Regions from separate parts of the Homo sapiens genome. Here region 1 is linked to region 2. Evidence: promoter capture Hi-C in human tissues and cell types (Jung and others, 2019). All regions are on one chromosome and are shown on one strand. Each heading gives the region's core, a stretch centred on a gene start or on the middle of the fragment in contact. The rest is flanking DNA. Distances are from core to core; before and after follow the strand shown. Region 1 overlaps MAP7 (microtubule associated protein 7). Region 2 holds the start of MAP7 (microtubule associated protein 7).

The links. Contacts are between HindIII fragments. The study calls those that stand out against the background at their distance.
Region 1: a fragment that was not itself captured here is called in contact with the fragment with the promoter of MAP7 in region 2 in 1 of the 25 tissues and cell types used here (hippocampus).

Annotation. Positions count from the first base shown.
Region 1 is chr6:136,399,525-136,402,786 of GRCh38, forward strand. The region is part of intron 3 of MAP7 (microtubule associated protein 7); the gene reads right to left. Among named protein-coding and RNA genes, the nearest start is that of BCLAF1, 110 kb to the left of the region's middle. The HindIII fragment of the contact is 5,402 bases long and covers 1-3,262 here.
Region 2 is chr6:136,548,788-136,551,760 of GRCh38, forward strand. It overlaps MAP7 (microtubule associated protein 7), which reads right to left and starts at 1,635. Exons shown (of 18, transcript NM_003980.6): 1 at 1,555-1,635. The coding sequence starts at 1,621. It overlaps MAP7-AS1 (MAP7 antisense RNA 1), which reads right to left. Exons shown (of 1, transcript NR_186370.1): 1 at 1,936-2,973. RefSeq lists enhancers at 471-1,009, 1,548-2,085 and silencers at 1,307-1,356, 1,367-1,546, 1,587-1,936. The HindIII fragment of the contact is 8,644 bases long and covers 1-2,973 here.

The DNA of each region.
Region 1 (3,262 bases), core at 540-3,039, 150 kb before region 2:
ATTATTCCTTGTAGAGACAGAGTCTTGCTGTGTTGTCCAGGCTGGCCTCAAACTCCTGGGCTCAAGCAATCCTCCTGCCTTGGCCTCCCAAAGTGCTGGGATTATAGGCATGAGCCACTGTGCCTGGTCCAGTTTCCTTTTGTTTTCATTTTGAATGTTAAAATTTTAACCTTTATGCTTTATCTCAATAATTGTTGTGATTACTTATATTCAAATACATGTCATTTTCATATTATATGCTGACTGATATATGTGCTGAATAATAATTCTTTTTAAAAAGGAATCTAATGGCTTAACCTATGCTCATCAATTTTAGAAGGGAGTTGTAGAATAAAATAATAAGAACATCTAAAGATGGAAAAGTAAAAATATTTTGTAGGTCTTAGAGCATTTGTGTGGGAAATACTAATTAGTTTCATTTAATAGTCAAGAAACAGGAATGAAAATGTAATCATTAATAGAATGGAAAAGTTTAGCACACCTTTCAAATTATTAAAGATAACCATGGAATGAATGGTACTTACATCAAACCAACCCCTACCTCTACACCACCAGCCCTGCCCCTCCTACAAAAAAGTTTTTTTTTCTTTTTTAAAAAAAGGGGAAAATAGGCTGGGTGTGGTGGCTCACGCCTGTAATCCCAGCACTTTGGGAGGCTGAGGCGGGCAGATCACGAGGTCAGGAGATCGAGACCATCCTGGCTAACACAGTGAAACCCTGTCTCTACTGAAAATACAAAAAATTAGCCAGGCGTGGTGGTGGGCGCCTGTAGTCCCAACTACTAGGGAGGCTGAGGCAGGAGAATCACTTGAACCTGGGAGGCGGAGGTTGCAGTGAGCCAAGATTGCGCTACTGCACTCCAGCCTGGGCAACAGGGCGAGACTCTGTCTCAAAAAAAAAAAAAAAAGAGTTGGGGGAAACAACATTTTTTAAAAAAAGCCAGATGGACTAAAATCAAGCCTATTAAGACTTTTAGAATGGGTTAAAAACAAAAACACCTAGCTATGTTGTTTAAAAGAAACAAAACTAAAACAAAGCGTCAAATAACACTAAAATAATGAGCAAATGGCTATCAGGCAAATGAAAACAAAAATGTAATAACTGTGGGACTATTGCTACCAGAAAAAATAGAACTGAAGATCAAATGAGGAAAAAGACCCAAAGAAGTGAAATGATGCTTCCAAGATCAGCACATGGTCTAAAAGAAAACAGCTGGGATTTTCATTCAGCTCTGACTCGAAAGCTTGTACTCAGTCACTCTACAATATTGCCTCTATATTCACTTCTGCATGCTTCTAATTTCCACCTGAATTTCTCAGTCAGATCCATCATATAATCTTATTCATTATCTGCACATTCTTCCCTGCTCCAAACTGGAACTTTCTTTGTCTTCCGTATTCTGATAGCAGATTCCTGAGACCAAATGGTCTATAAAGTTAGTCACTTCAAGTCTTCCACAATGTTTCCCTCATGCATGGTGCACCCTAACTCAACACATCCATATAATTGGTCCCATCAATTGTTGTATCAGAATGATCTCTCAGCTGGGTGCAGTGGCTCACACCTGTAATCCTAACACTTTGGGAGGCCAAGGTGGGAAGACTGCTTGAGCTCAGGAGTTTGAGACTAGCATGGGCAACATAGCAAGACCCCCATCTCCACAAAAAAGAAAGAAAAATTATCTGGACTTGTTGGCACATGCCTGTAGTCCCAGGTACTTGGGAGGCTGAGGCAGAAGGGTCCCTTCAGCCCAAGAGTTTGAGGATGCAGTGAGCTATGATTGCACCACTGCACTCCATCCTGGGTGACATGTTTATTGAGGCACTATTCACAATAGCAAAGACTTGGAACCAACCCAAATGTCCATCAATGATAGACTCGATTAAGAAAATGTGGCACATATACACTATGGAATACTATGCAGCCATAAAAAAGGATGAGTTCTTGTCCTTTGTAGGGACATGGATAAAGCTGGAAACCATCATTCTGAGCAAACTATCGCAAGGACAGAAAACCAAACACCGCATGTTCTCACTCATAGGTGGGAACTGAACAATGAGAACACTTGGACACAGGATAGGGAACATCACACACCTGGGCCTGTCGTGGGGTGGGAGGAGGGGAGAGGGATAGCATTAGGAGATATACCTAATGTAAATGATGAGTTAATGGGTGCAGCACACCAACGTGGCACATGTATACATATGTAACAAACTTGAACGTTGTGCACATGTACCCAAGAACTTAAAGTATAATTAAAAAAAAAAAAAGAAACCCTGTCTCTAATGTAAAAAAACAGAAAAACACAGAATGATCGCTTGAATCTGCTGTAGCCTCTCCAATCTTTTTACCACTACTTTAAACTCTCATTCCTTTCTCATGCCTCATTTCTAGTCTTTAACCACTTCAAATCCATCCTACACATTAGTCGTCTCAGAGATATCTTCCTCAAGAAACAGACCTGAAGTCATTGTCGTGCTTGAAAACCTGTTAGTTCTCCTACTGTTCCCTGTCCAACCCCTTGGACTGGCCATAGGATCATGCATCTTCACACACACCTCCTTCCCCCTGGCAAACTTCTGTCTTTCAAGTCCTAGCTCAGAAGCTCCTTCCTCTGAGGAGCCTTTCCTGATGACCACAGCACAGGAGCCCCATCTGCTAGCTGGATTCAGACTCCCTCATAGCACTTACACTCCAGACGGTAGCTACTCTGCTTTTATGTGTTTGTGAATTCTTCCCTATACACACAATGTCTAGTCTAGCAGATGGTTAAAATATGCTTGAATAAATGAACTAAAGAGTTAAAGGACAGAGTGATCTCCAAGCATAGTGATTCACACTGGGCTTTGGTGACAACTCAAAGCCTTCTCAACTTGTCATTAAAAGCATTCAGTGGAGAGCTGCCTGATAAGAAGTGTGACCTTGGAGGATCCCCACAACACGGTGCTCCTGCACAGAGGGTCCTTCCCATTTCACCCTGTCACTGCACACAGTGGTGGGCTAATGGGGTTGAGGTGCTAGAATAGTAGTTACATAGGTGGAGATCAAGAGCTTTTCTTATATGTAGGCTGAATGATTTTTCAAATAAGAAAGGACTTACTGCCGGGCACGGTGGCTCACGCCTGTAATCCCAGCACTTTGGGAGGCCGAGGCCGGCGGATCACGAGGTCAGGAGATCGAGACCATCCTGGCTAACACGGTGAAACCCCGTCTCTACTAAAAATACAAAAAATTAGCCGGGTGCGGTGGCGGGCGCCTGTAG
Region 2 (2,973 bases), core at 385-2,884:
CAATGTTGTTTCACATGCAGTTACTGGGTCAGGGTTAGGAACGAAAATCATGCCGTATATTTACAAATGAGGATGCTCCTCTCCCGGGGCCCTCACTTGGGGGAGCCCCGTCCCAGCGTCTAGCTCATCAAATTCCCGAAAGCAATTACAAAGGCATCTCTTCTCCACCCCAAAACAAAATAATGATCTACCAATCTTGCGAACACATTAAGACAAACTCCCTACAGGAAGGAGCATGACTTAAACAAGTTCAAGATACTTTGTCAGTCTTAACCTCAGGTATCTTGGCTGAAGGGATTAAATCATTAGACTTTACGTACCCAACCTCTTCCTAGCAATAGCAGATACATAATTTGCAAATACTGTTTCAGAGCTCTCTGGACCTTTCACGTTAAAATAAGCATACTTGATGGTGGGGAGACAGTGATTCTTACATTTAGGAAACAAATGCTTCCGATTGTGACCGTATGGAAGTGGAAAACAGCTTGCAATTGGAGAGTCTAAGAATTGAATTTCTTTTTAAAGTAAGAAACTGCCTCACTGCCCCCATCCCCAAGTGTAGGAAGATATAGAAACAGCTTACTGGCCAAGAATAGAAGAGGGAACCAGTGGAGAGGGACGGATTTGCAAGATAGCCTCTGGAGAAAAAAAAATCACGAGGGAGAAAAATCGGCTTCATACTATGGAGAGATGGGCGGGGTTGGGAAGCCTTGCTGCTGGTCTTGGGAAGCCTTGCTGCTGGTCTTGGGGACGTGATCCCCTGTCCCTAAGTGTGCCCCTGGAGGTTGTGGGGGAGGGGTATCCTCAACACAGAGGCCTGACCACCAAATCCCGGGCTGCAGAGCCAACAATCCTCCTTTGGGCTCCTGCACAGACTAAAAACAAAAAACTCTGAGAACTCCGACAAGTCAACGAAAGTCTGATCCCGTCAAGCCCGCACTCGCAAACCCCCACCGTGCTGCACTGGGCCCCGGCCCTCCCGAGCTCGGTCCCCTCGGACGACGGTCGTCGCCACTGCGGGCACCAGATTGGGGGGCGGGCCGCTCACCCCGCGGTCCTGCCCCACACCGACCCCGCTGAGGAGCCCCCGGCACCCGGGGCGACCAGGGAAGGCGGGAGGAGGTGCCCAGAAACTGCTCGTCCTGCCAGTCGCACCTGGCCGACGACTCTCTGGCCACTGGTTTGGTCTGGGGGATACGATTTCCCATTCAACTGAATTAGACCCGAGGCCGCGGCGGGGAGGGCAGCGGCCGGGGTCTCTCCGTTTCCTCCCCCGGCTCGCCTCCACCTGTTGCGGGAAAGTCGCGGTGGAGCGCCCGAGGGCGGCCGCAACCCCGGCCGGGGCCGAGCCGGGCTGGCCGAGCCGCGGCGGCGAAGGGCGGGGGAAGGCGCTCTCGGAGCAGGGTGCGCGGCGCGCAGGGCCGGTTGTTCCGGGCCGCGGCCGCGCGGGCGGGGAGGGGGCTGCCGGCGCCGGGTGATTTCGGTGCCAGCCCGCCGGCCCCGCTCGCCGTCCCCTGCCCGACGGGACCCCCACTATCCCCGCTGTGCGGTCACCTGTTTCGCTTCGCACTGCGCCGTCGCCGCCCCTGTGGCCGTCGCCGCCAGCTCCTAGCTCCGCCATGGTGCTCCGATGACGCGCCCGGAGAGCCGCTCCGCCCTTTCCTCGGCTTGGCTCCCGCCGGCCCCCGCCTCCCAGGCCAGCGGCCCAGACAGGTGAGCGCAGTCCGGGGATGGCGGAGGGCGGGGACAGAGAGCGCGGCAGTCGGCTGCGGCCTGGGCCTGGCGCGCCCCCTCGCGGGCAGGTGCGGCGTGGCAGCCGCTCCGACCGCCGCTGCCGAGTCTCGGCTGGAAGAGCGGCGGGCGGAACCAGTACCTCAGTCCGGAGCTTCCGGTCGCCGCGGCCGACCAGCTGAGGGCTCCCGGAGATATGGAGCGGGGTCAGCGAGGCCTGGTGGCGCCTCCTGGAGTCTGGGACGAGCGGCGGTCCGAGGAGCAGCCCAGGTGGGGCGAGGGTACGGAGACGCTATTTCCCTCCGAACTCTGAAGTAGCCAGGTCAGTGTCGGCTCCGCGAGGGCTGGAGTTCACGGTGACAGCCGGCAGAGCATCTGATGCCACGTGGAGAGGCGAAGTACATGGGTCGGATTCCACGCTGGGAGCCGGCCTGGATCTGCGCTTTAGGAAGCCACTGCGGGCGACCCTATCTTGTCGCCAGGACTTCGCATCTGATGAGCCTCAGGGCACACAAGTTAGAGAGGCTTGTGCCGGCTGATGTGGCTTTTCTTTTTCTTAGTTTCCGTTTAGTAAACGACCTTGTGACTTCTGGCTTGCTCAGGAAGACCAGAAAAAAAGGCAATAGGTAACGAATTTTTCTTTTTTTAAAGAAACAGATTATTGGCCGAGGAAAAACCAATTTCGCTCTAAAGGATAAGCAACAAAATACTGAGGGGGGAAAAAGCCTACACAAATGGAAACATACGGCACAAAATCAAGGAGCGACCAGTTCCGCATGGTTACACTAAAATGCACTGCACTCCCACTCTCTGGCTTGGCTGAAGATAACCAGCAAGCTCTGAACAGTTTAAAAGCCTTCCAAGGACTGCAGCAGCACTGGACACACAAGAGAGTCGAGAACAGTATTGGATTTATTGTTAGGGTTACAATTTTCACGATCTTTGCATGCAAAACTTGCCACTCTGAGCCCAGTGAACTATTTTTATTTGGTTTACTTACTGGCTTTCTGGATGACTAGGTAGAGCTTTAACTAAAGAACACTTCTGCTGTGGTCTGTGATGATGAATTTTCCCGTAGTGTCATTTCTATAATGGAATAGGCAAACTGACCATTTAGAATGTGATATTCCTAAATCACATTCAAATCAGTCTTATCAGAGACTTCTAATCAATAAAAATAAAGCACCAGATGGCTAGAGGTAGTTTTTGACCTCAGCTTGGGCCTCAGCAAAGATTTTTTGT